Linked DNA regions of Homo sapiens: region 2 is linked to region 1. Evidence: promoter capture Hi-C in human tissues and cell types (Jung and others, 2019). All regions are on one chromosome and are shown on one strand. Each heading gives the region's core, a stretch centred on a gene start or on the middle of the fragment in contact. The rest is flanking DNA. Distances are from core to core; before and after follow the strand shown. Region 1 holds the start of NKX2-3 (NK2 homeobox 3). Region 2 overlaps SLC25A28 (solute carrier family 25 member 28).

Evidence for each region. Contacts are between HindIII fragments. The study calls those that stand out against the background at their distance.
Region 2: a fragment that was not itself captured here is called in contact with the fragment with the promoter of NKX2-3 in region 1 in 3 of the 25 tissues and cell types used here (H1 embryonic stem cells, bladder and neural progenitor cells).

Annotation. Positions count from the first base shown.
Region 1 is chr10:99,529,963-99,535,837 of GRCh38, forward strand. NKX2-3 (NK2 homeobox 3) reads left to right here and starts at 2,980. Exons shown (of 2, transcript NM_145285.3): 1 at 2,980-3,527; 2 at 5,023-5,875. The coding sequence starts at 3,170. The coding sequence ends at 5,759. LINC01475 (long intergenic non-protein coding RNA 1475) reads right to left here and starts at 1,215. Exons shown (of 5, transcript NR_120618.1): 1 at 1,050-1,215. RefSeq lists an enhancer at 2,310-3,201 and a silencer at 5,343-5,492. The HindIII fragment of the contact is 5,212 bases long and covers 298-5,509 here.
Region 2 is chr10:99,613,116-99,618,990 of GRCh38, forward strand. It overlaps SLC25A28 (solute carrier family 25 member 28), which reads right to left. Exons shown (of 4, transcript NM_031212.4): 2 at 581-809. Among named protein-coding and RNA genes, the nearest start is that of SLC25A28, 4.4 kb to the right of the region's middle. The HindIII fragment of the contact is 3,914 bases long and covers 1,215-5,128 here.

The DNA.
Region 1 (5,875 bases), core at 1,730-4,229:
CTGCTGTACAACTACGGCTCTCGAGTTCTCCTCCTTTCAGGCCCGCGGCCGTCGAGGGTACAGGCTGCGCGCGCGGGAAAAGGAGGCCACCTAGATGAGATTGGCCTGGCGGGGATCCCTGCGGGGAAGCACGCCACTGGGGAACCAGACCAAGGGAGTCTGAACAATACTGAGGGGGTAGCTGGAGACAACCCAAACTCCTGCTCTGGGCATAAAACTCAGATCAACCTTAGGGATGCGGTAGCGGATAGAGGTTTTCCGCAGGCTGGAACAGCACTACACTGGGCTGGGTATGAGGAAAGGAAGCGGCGATAAGGTCTAGGCGCCGCCCGCTAGGCCCCTTCGCCTGGAAGTCCTCACAGGCCCTGGTGGCCTACTGAGGAGCAACCTGCCCAGGGTCCTCAAGAGACAACCGCTTAGGCCTGGCGCAAGGTACCTGGCCCGGGAGCGGCTGGGGCGGCGGAATTTGGGGTAGAGGGGCACCCGTGGGCCGGCTGGTGGGGAGGAGACAGCCCCCTGCATGAGCTCACAGAGGCGCCCTGGTGGGCTCCGGCGGCTGCAGAGCGTCTGTGGGCGTGTATTGGCGATCAGGCGCTGGAGGGGCGCTTTGTCCTGGTCGCAGTTTTAAGACCTGGATTGTTGGGCTAGATTTATGAAAGGCCTAGGAGCGAAGCGAGATGGGAAGCAAGGGAATGTAACAAGGAGAAATGCAGGCTTCGGTTGGAAACTGGGGAGAGAGAGATTGTTTCGATAGCCTTTCTCCTTTTCTTTTTCCAGAATCATGAAATCACCGAGGAGAAGAAAACTGGGGACTAGAAGAGAGCAGAAACATTTCCCCTGAGACAGTTTTGCCCCGGAGGTGGGGTGGGGAAGTGGCGCTGGAGCTCAGCTTCCTGCTTTTATGCTCGGCGGCCACCGTGATGCACACACACTCGAGGTCCGCCACCCCGCAGTGCCGTGCACCCCTCTGCCCCCACCTCGGAATTTTTGTGCCCGAGCGCTCGGGATCCACGGCAAAACCAGGCACATTCCTCCCTCTGCAGACTCACCGCCTGGTTTGTAGACACTGGTCTCCGCCTGGGGCGTCAATAGTTTCAGGATTTAAAGCAGAAAGACACCGGGCGCCCCTGTGGCTGAGGAATGGCGGTTCCAGCACAAGACCCTGCCCACAGAGGGTCTCTCCCTACTGCCTGCGGGCCGCCGCTACCCTAAGTACTCCGGGGCGCACGTGGCCCGCGCGGCATCCCAGCTCCCCGGGCGGACCCAGGGGCTGCCTCTCCACAACAGTTCCGCTCCCTTCTGCAGAGCCCCGCCTCTCCCACCTCCCGACAGGCTGTTCTTTCTCCCTTCAACCTTGGGCACCCACTCCTGTCGCCGTTGCGGGACCCGCGTGGCAGCCCTCCACCCTCGTACCCACTCCCAGCCGGTGTCTTATGCCGCTCGGAGGCAATGTCCACCGTCCCTGCACCTTTCACCTGCCCCTTCCAGGTGAGACGGGTCTCTTTCAGCTCCGCCATCCTGACCGCCAAAAAATGCTTGGATTGGCTGGGGCCGGATGAGGACAGCCACGGTTGAGCTGGAACCGTTCCCTATTTTTTTAAGGCCAGCGCTGCACACGGGTCTTTCTGTGGCCCTCAAAGCAGCGCCCGCTGCTCCTCACTGGGCTAGGCCTGGTAGCGAGCAAATGCCTATTGTGGGAGAAGATGGTCCCAGAGTTTCCAGCTCAGAGTTTCCAGAATCTGTGGGGGACTGTATAGACTCCCCCAGAAAACAACCAGGGCCTCATGAAGGTGCCAGAAGGCGTGTAGGTAGAGAAATTTTAAAAGCCTGTCGGAGAGGCAAGGCCTACATTCAGGCTCCTGATTTCAATAGGTGGAAAAGAAGGCTGCCAAGGCTGGGTCACCTCCCTTGTGAGGACAGATCCTGCTCTCAGTATGTGCCACACTCCAGCCACGCACCACCAATGCAGTCAACAAACACTGCTTGACCTCCCATACAGAAAAGCAGTCGTTGACACGTACTGAGCGCTTAACACGCGTGAGGCCGTGCACTAAGATTCTGGCATGTTTTGCCTCATTCAACCCTAGCAACAACCAAAAAAGGTATTACTGCCTTCGTTTTATAGACGAGAAAACAGACTTAGAAACGCCGAAGATCACACACTGACTAGGCCAAGCAAGAGCTGTCGAATACCAAAGTTTAGTCATAACTCTATCTTCCTTTCACATACTGCTCTGTGCGGCTGCTGCCAGGGATACAAGGGCAAAAGCAACCCCGGGACACTGCCCTCATGGAGCTTACAGTCTAACTGGGGCGACCAGGCAGGCACATACAGCTATAGAATTAAGTGGGAAGTGATAAGTGACATGCATGTCCTTTGCTAACACAAGCTGCAGGTTCAGAGCCTGAAAGAGGGGACTTCCGGCTAGACGATCTAGGAGCTCTTCCTTGGAGAACAGTTTCCACTCGTGGAGGCTAAGTGTCAGAAACATGTTCCAAGTGGAGAGAAAGCTTGAGCAAAGGCAACAAGTTGAAAAAGGACATGTCGCCCACCCATAGATAGATAAAACACTGCATCTCCTCGTGGATCCAGCGCCCAGTATTTACCCGCCAGGAAGTTTTCCTGCCCCGCGCAGCAGCTGAAAAAAACACACTCCTGGGGCATCCTTCCCTGGCGTTGGTTCGTGGACAGCAAGCCTCCCAGAACTGGCCTAGGTCGGGAAGGTGCAGCCACGCGGGAATCAATGGTTCAGGAACCGGATCTGTGCAGCCTCGCCCGCAGCGTCTCGGACTTCAGGACTCTATACTAGTCCTTGTCTATTTCTGGTAGAGCCGCAACATCCCACTCGCAGAGAGCAGGGGGCGTGGCCCACATGAGCCAGAACCTATAGGGAGGGAGGTTGGGGCGCCAGCCCCGCCCCCCCAACGTGACGCAAATCTCCCGGACAGAGGCTTAGGAGCCCGGGCCCCAGTCCCTGCAGTGGCTGTAACAAAACCCAGACCCCCAGGTCCCGGCCAATGGAGGCGATTTAGACTGGAGTGGGACCGCGTCTGTCAAAAGCCCGACTCGGCAGCAGCGGCGGAGTCCAGGAGGAGAGCTGGAGCCGCCGCGCTGCCTCCCCGCCCCCGCCGGGATTTATTATTTGGACTGGACAATTAAGTGGCCCTGATGATGTTACCAAGCCCGGTCACCTCCACCCCTTTCTCAGTCAAAGACATTTTGAATCTGGAGCAGCAGCACCAGCACTTCCATGGTGCGCACTTGCAGGCGGACTTGGAGCACCACTTCCACTCTGCGCCCTGCATGCTGGCCGCCGCTGAGGGGACGCAATTTTCTGACGGAGGGGAGGAGGACGAGGAAGACGAGGGCGAGAAATTGTCCTATTTGAACTCACTAGCCGCAGCAGACGGCCACGGGGATTCAGGGCTGTGTCCCCAGGGCTATGTCCACACGGTCCTGCGAGACTCGTGCAGCGAGCCCAAGGAACATGAAGAGGAGCCCGAGGTCGTGAGGGACCGGAGCCAAAGTGAGTAGAGGGGGAAAGAAAACGCACCCGCACACCTGGAGCAATGGCAGAGCGCACACAAACAGCCCACAGACCTTGCCAGCGCAGCTGCCCATCCCTTTACCCTTTGGCTGGGGCCATGCCTCCGCCCTGGTCACCGACAGCTCCACAAAGCGCAGGTACCTGCAAGGGAGCCGGGGTGGAGAGACAAGGACGAGGTGACCCTGACAACTACTCCCCCCAAAAGGGGGAAATGAGGGAAGGGAAGGTGGTTACTGCTGCCCTGATGCTGAGAGGCGACGTGGGCTCAGCGCCTGGGTCCTCATAACTGGCAGTATTTTTGCTCTTCCCCCCGCCCCAAAAGGCTCTTCCCCCAAAAAGGGCAGGAGCCTGGACCTTTTTCGTTTTCCCTCTAGGGTGAGATGAGTTCTCTTAGCCCAGGGCAGCCACCCCTTCTTCTCCGAAAAGACAGCCCAAGCAGCCTGTGTCTCTCGCACCCGCAGGGGCAGGAACTTTGGTGGAGGCCAGCTGGGCGGTTTCCTCCCTTCTCTGCTTGGAGCTCAGCGTCCTTGAACCCGTGGCACTCGGTAGAGAGAGAGGAGATGATCGGAAAGTGCGTGGGAACAATGTCTATTCCGCGCGACCATAGCTCTCACATCCCTAAGGCGCCAGCCTTTTTTGAAAATCCGTAACGTTTTGCTTTGTGTCCCAGGCTGCGGGCCTAATAGAAAACGCGCCGAACTTGAGTCCGAGATCTTGGCTGCTCACATCGGATGGGAAGTGAATTGATAGGGAGATGGGATAATCAAATAAAGTCCCCAAGGAAGTGTATTTAAGAGGACAGAATCACAGTCTTTCCCCAAGAGGCGGTTTGATGTGGCAGAGGCCAAGGCCTATGCTCTCATAGTTCCCAGAGCCGAAAATCGGCATGAAACTGTCTATAACTAGTCAATCAAACTTCATTTTCAAAGTGCACACAGATGTCGTCATAACATTCGCTTGTAGTCTTTTATAAGCCACACACACACACAAGTCCCTGAGCCATGCACAAGCGTTACACTCAGAACAGATTTTCGCGCAACCCATGCCCACCGGCCCACTCATACCAACACGCCTCACACCTTCAGTTATCCTTGGTGGAGTAGAATGCAAACGAGTTTGCAAATACTGTAGTTATTATGTAGTTGCAAGCCTTCATCCTGAAAATAGTCATTAGCACGTCGAGCCGCATATTTAATACAGAGTAATCTCTTCTCTCGCAGATGCTCAAGATCCAAATAAACACGCACTAACTACCCCTCTCCACGAAACGCGCCTCCGCCTGCTAAGGGCGTTCTTTGGGTACTGGGGCTGTCTCAGGGTCCCACAGCGCCAGGAGCCACAAACGTTCCCAAAAGTCCAGCCATTTACTACCGCACGCTCTGCGCAGCCACCAAAAAGGGTCACGGTGCTCCAGGACAGGAGCCGCGGTGCGGCCGGGAACAGCTAAGGACGCTGTTGTTTGCTTCTTCCGCAGAAAGCTGCCAGCTGAAGAAGTCTCTAGAGACGGCCGGAGACTGCAAGGCGGCGGAGGAGAGCGAGAGGCCGAAGCCACGCAGCCGCCGGAAGCCCCGGGTCCTCTTCTCGCAAGCCCAGGTCTTCGAGCTGGAACGCAGGTTCAAGCAGCAGCGGTACCTGTCGGCACCCGAGCGCGAGCACCTCGCCAGCAGCCTGAAGCTCACATCCACTCAGGTGAAAATCTGGTTCCAGAATCGCAGGTACAAGTGCAAGAGACAGCGGCAGGACAAGTCTCTGGAGCTTGGCGCACACGCGCCCCCGCCGCCGCCGCGCCGCGTGGCTGTCCCGGTGCTGGTGCGGGACGGCAAGCCGTGCGTCACGCCCAGCGCGCAGGCCTACGGCGCGCCCTACAGCGTGGGCGCCAGCGCCTACTCCTACAACAGCTTCCCCGCCTACGGCTATGGGAACTCGGCCGCGGCCGCCGCCGCCGCCGCCGCCGCCGCCGCAGCAGCGGCGGCCTACAGCAGCAGCTATGGCTGTGCGTACCCGGCGGGCGGCGGCGGCGGCGGCGGCGGGACCTCCGCGGCGACCACTGCCATGCAGCCCGCCTGCAGCGCGGCCGGAGGCGGCCCCTTTGTGAACGTGAGCAACCTAGGAGGCTTCGGCAGCGGCGGCAGCGCACAGCCGTTGCACCAGGGTACTGCAGCCGGGGCCGCGTGCGCTCAGGGCACCTTGCAGGGCATCCGGGCCTGGTAGGGACGGGGCGGGTCACGCGGCGGGCACCCCAGCGCAGCCTGGCGCCGCGGGACTGAAGCTCGAGAAGGGCCTGACCTAAAGGTCAGGTCCCCTCGTTAAAAAAATATGTACGTCTA
Region 2 (5,875 bases), core at 1,922-4,421, 83 kb after region 1:
CCAGCCGGTCCTAAAGCCCTAGGCTGCTATCCTTTCTCTTACTTCCACACAACCTTCTGGTTTCTTCATGCAGTTCCTTGGCCCCACCCCCATTCATTTTGTCATGAGGCTTTGTCATGTTCTCAACACAAACTGCCTCTGGTGAGTTGGGATCCTGAAAAGGTGAGGCAAAAAGCAGGGGCTTCATTAGTATCTTCCTTGGGTGGCTGGCTGGGTCGCCTCCAATCCTGCCCTAAGGAGCAGGACACCACCCAACTGTCAAACATAGACTGGGGGTAGTTCAGTGTGTCTCCACATTACCAGGGCATTAGAAGTTGATGCCAGGGAGATGAGAGGAACAAGTCAAGCTGGTAGGTAAGGGAGGATACTGTAACCCTTTGTTGAGGTGCCCCAAAGGAAAAGGCAGGGTTGAAGCGGCCCGTTGTCTGAGAACATCAGGTTTGGAAGTCCCTCCCTTATAATCTGGCCTATCCCAGCCCAAAGCTTCAGCTCCAAACCATGCTGAGACTGGAAAGCACTGACAGCAGCAAAGCCCAAAGAGTTGGGAAAGTGGGGGAACCAGCACAGGAAGGCTCAATACCATTGGCAATATGGCTATTGCCCCCAGGGTGGATTACATCACTCAATGTCTTTTTTAACTTTTCGTAGCAGGCAAAATAAAGGGCGTGGGCAGGCCCTGCGCCTGTTGCTGTGACGTTCAGCCCCCTCATGGGCCTCCATAGGCCCTCCGTTCTTATAATCCTCCAGAGGGCCTCCAACACATTGCGATAGCGGGCAGCTGGGTCAGGCTGTAGACTCTGCATCCGGGTCTGAAATTACAGCAAGGAGAAGCGCAATGTCAGCAATGCCAACTTCTCGCCCCACCTCAACACACTGGGCAGACCTTCTACATGGAGCTGTGCCAATCTGTGAGAGGGATATCTGGCTTTCAGCTTATTTCCAATCTATAGCTGATCTTTCTTCTAAGCCTTGGACCTTTCTTTTTCTAGTCATCTATGACCCTAAGAATGGAACACCATTATTTTCCCTGAAAAAATAATCCCACCTATTGCTAAGTGTCCTGGTACTCCAAAATGATTCAGAGCCCCAGCAACAAATATCAAGCCTGTGTTTCAGAAGTTGCTTTTGTGCCTTAATACACTCAAGCTGACAGTTCTTTACAAATGGATTCTAAACTCCAGTATTTACTATCTATGACATACTTTATGCTGTATACCTAAAGAGTGCCCCTGGCCCTGCTTCATGACCACACACTGAGGGGCGGCTAATTTTTTTATACTTTTTCAGACTATCTGGCAATGGTGGCTGGGTCTACACAGAGTCTTGGCAGAAGCAGCATTCTTAATACATGCTTTTATTTCTTGGGAAAGAAAGTTTACCCTGAAACTGCAAAGGTGGGAGTGTCTAGCTAGAAACCAATCTAGTCTCCAATCCTGAAGGGCCCTTCCAGATTTCTAATTTAAACTGATTGAATCCCAAAATTGGCATTAGCAAATAAAATCAGTCTCAGTGAAACATAATCCTTGGAATCTCTCTAAAGGATTTGATGATTGGAATAAAAGCGTAGGGTAGACACTTTGTATGATGTTCTTGGACAAAGTTTTGTTGAAATTTGGGAAATTAATCTTATTCAAAACACCTCCCTAAATTAGACCTTTTCTGAAGAGTGTGTCTCCCCAGGAAAATTTCTCATCTACTGACCCAATTCAAGGTAAAGTAACATGGAAACTAATAGTTAATATAAAATCAATGTCTAAAAAGAAAAATCAATGTCTGGTGCCTGACACACAATAAGCACCTCTGATTTGTTTGCTAAATGAATGAATCTTTTGTCACATAACTGTATCAGCTACAATCACTGGTGAGCCAATGGAAGCAAGTGATGCCCAAGTACAGTTTAAATTTCTGCATCAATCTAATCACTAGATTCTATTTGGATTTAAAAGCTTGAACCTTCGGCCAGGCACGGTGGCTCACGTCTGTAATCCCAGCACTTTGAGAGGCCAAGGCGAGCAGATCACCTGAGGTCAGGAGTTCGAGACCAGCCTAGCCAACATGGTGAAACCCCGTCTCTATTAAAAATACAAAAAAATTAGCCGGGCATGGTGGTGTGCACCTGTAATCCCAGCTACTCAGGAGGCAGGAGAATCGCTTGAACCTGTGAGGCGGAGGTTGTAGTGAGCCTTCGCTGGTTTGAGCCACTGCACGGCAGCCTGGGCAACAAGAGCAAAACTCCATCTCAAAAAAAAAAAAAAAAAAAGCTTGAACCTTCCTCTTGGCCAACTGGAATCCAAGAGTAATACCTTTCCTCAAGAGCATGGGAGAAAAGAAACTAACCAGATGAACAGGTCCCGGTTAGCTGCAAGCAATCCACATTCCTCTGGTTATTTTCTCCTGCCTGCTACCAACAAAAAACCGGAAGCTTAAAAGGTTAGTTACTGGATGTTCAATCAGAAATACTCTACACAGTATCACTTATCACAATTTGACACATTCTTTCCTACTTCCCCCCACAAAACCTCATGTATTTCCAATAAAGGGTTTGTTTACTCATCTTTCACATCACACAAGGCATATAAAATCCATCAGAAGAGTTGTTCATAGAGACTACGGGTCATATGCTGGCTAGAGCTACTAATAAGCAAAGATAAATTGAGCCTCTTAGCTTATCGTGTTTCCATGCATTTATTCAAAACTGATCTTGTATAAGGGGAATGTTCAGCAATTGCATTGCTCTGCTGCAGTCAATGGTGTATTTGGCTACCAATTCTGAACGGTTTGGCTTCGGAGGCCTGGAACTCCTCACCCCCAAGAGAAAACCGGACTGTGGGAAGCTACTTTGAACATTCTATATACACATCTAAATCTAACTCAACAATTCTAACTCGATAAAAGTACACCCTTATGGAGAGGACCTGGGCATAAGCTATGCCAAATATAAAAATGAATATGGCTCCCCAAATTTGTGGGCCAATAAATCTGCCTTTTACAGAAAGATGAAATATCTAAGTAAGAATTTCTGAAAAACCTCAATGTGAAAAACTTCTACCTGGCTTTGGAGAAAAGCCAAACAACCCAGTAGAGAGGTAAGTGGTTTGGTAAAAGACAAGCCACATTTGAGTCAAAAAGCCTGAGTCTGAGCCTCAGCTTTGCTAGTTGTGTGATCTTGGGTATGTCACTTAACCTCTTTAAGCTTCAAAATTGTCATCTATAACATGAGGCCAAGAATGACTGGCTCACAGGGCTGTTGTGGGGATTAAAAGAGATAAGATATGTAAAAGCCATTGGTAATTTATAAGATGCTAGAAATACAAAGATTTTTATTGTATTCAAAATGATTCTATATTTGTTCATATCTAAGAATTTACAGATCATGGTAGCATTGCCTCCTGTATAAGTCATTTCACAAATATACATGGGCAACTAACTGTCCTTAGCCACCAATAAATCAGGGTTAATTTTGTATTTTTTGTTTTCCTTTTAAAGTTTCTCTGTGGCTATAATGATTTACATGTCCCACTATTAATCTGAAGGTCATATGTTCAGGGACAAGCTTTACTGTGAAATTCTGTGCCTTGCCTGGTTCTTGTAATCTGCTTTTGGGAAGCTATATGGAAGGCTTGAGAGTCTGATACACTGAGTTCAAATCATAACTGTGCTACTTAAACTGTGTGACCTTGGACAAGTTATATAACTTCCCTAAGCCTCCTTTCAACTGTAAAATAATGAAAATGGTTTCTACTTCATGAAGTTGCTTCACAGATTAAATGAATAAATGTATGTAAGGTACTTCAGATAGTGCTTGGCACACAAGATCACTGAATACTTATTACTAGATGCAAGAAAATCAAATAAGCTAATGTTTCCATTTCCTAATCTTTCACAGGTGAATATGTATAGATACCATTTACATCTGGAAATTGGAGATTTATCTCCCTCTGCTCTTCCCCTCTTTATTATATAAGTGGATATTTGCTTTACCACTTCAGAGCCAACAACAGCAGCTTGATGATAGGTGGGTACTTCGCCAGAGGATTTTGAGAAGGGTTCTGACTGTTTTGGGTTGCAGAATGTCCCCATAGATAAAGTCTGGCGCTTGCCTTTGAGGCCCAGAAAAGGAAACTGGGATTTATCTGGGCTCCCAAGCCTCTCCATTATAGCCATGGAAATAGCTGGTTGAATAACCATGATCCAGCAAGGCTACACTGACTTCTCATGGTCCCTCTCAAGGATATTTAAAGTCAACTTGACCCTGATAAGTAGCTGAGGATGGACAGGCCTGCATGTCAAAAGGCAATGTCAGCTTTCATTTGCAAACATTGTGGTTGCCCTTTAGGCTCCAACAACATGGATATCTGCCTCCAGTCTTAAAGACTGGGCTGCTTTTCCTCCCCACTCATCCACTTATTAAAAGAAGAAGGATAGCTGCTGGGGACAAGCAAACTGGGAAGTCTTTTCTGAAGGAAGAGATTTGAATTTTACTTTCATGCCTGCACAAAAGTGTTTAACATACTCACTGACACTAAATCATACTGGCCTCACCTAGTTCTTCCCTCTAAGTCATTTAAATCCCAGCATTAAGTGCAAGTGAAAATGAGCCTTCTAAAATAAGCTTTCGTATTGTTGACAACTCCTGAGCATTTTTTTCTCAAATCATTATTTCCTTAATAGAGGGCTTTCAGGCATAACTGCTATGTTGTATGACTAATTTTTAAAAAACAAAAATTCCAAAGTTTATGTAAATGAGTAAGAACTGTTCTTCAAAATAGTTACCTTGGAAGGCTACAATTGACTTATTCCAGCAAAGCTGTGGTTATGCAAAACCTTTCTGGAACTTCTCTTTCAGAGGTGTTTCCTCAACGGGTTTATAGGCCTCAGAAGTAAAGCAGTCTCCTTGCTTTCCAGTCCCACCTTATTTTGATGCCAAGCAGTATTACCCATTTTGACCTCCCACTTTATTCACCATATTTGATTCTGAATAGTCTTTGTTCTTGCAAAATCAATTCCATCTTGTCACAGGGCAAAGATTTGCCTCCCTTAAGGACATGCACCCAAATATTCTAGAAGCATTTTTAACAGGGATTTATAAAATGTTTATAGCAACAATAGCACTATGTAAATATATGGAGTAAGGAGATAACCTCCCGTTCTGTTATAATGGAACAGTGGTTAAATTGATAAGTTACAGTAATATTTCTAAGACAAATTATTACACTGTATTTTTCAAGCCATTACATAATTTTCACTGTTTTCATTGATCTGTTTTCCATTCAATACTCATCCAGAAAAACAGCATCCTAAACCCTGCACTCTACTCACAGTCTAAGTCTAGGGAGGTTACTCTGCAGCTAGATTATATTAACTTTTGGATATACGGCATTATTAACTCACAAGTCATTCAACCTAGAGTCTATACATATAATGTGTGCATCTTTTTTATTTATACTTGTTTTACATTTCAATGTTGTTACTTCTCTCTCATGGATTTTACAGTTTATTTCTATTTCTCCCAATTGACAAGGACATTTAACATTCTAATGTCCATTTTAGTCAAGTGCATTTACCCCGTTTTCAATGGATATGGCCCTTGTTAGGAGTTACCTTGTGTTAAAATACTCCTGCCAGTTTGCTGTCATTCACAAAGCTTAATGAGCGCTCCCCCCATTTCCTTATCCACATTCTAATGAAAAACATGAAACAGTACTGGAACCAAAGGGAAGTAAAAGGGATCTACTTTGCCTTTCCCAAGTTGATTCTCTCCTCCTTTTGAATACATAACACTTTCCTGATTTGAAGAGAAAACATACATCAAAAAGCTGCCAGGTCACTGTTTGACTATTACCCTTCACATGTAAAGGAGGCATCGGTCTTTGTC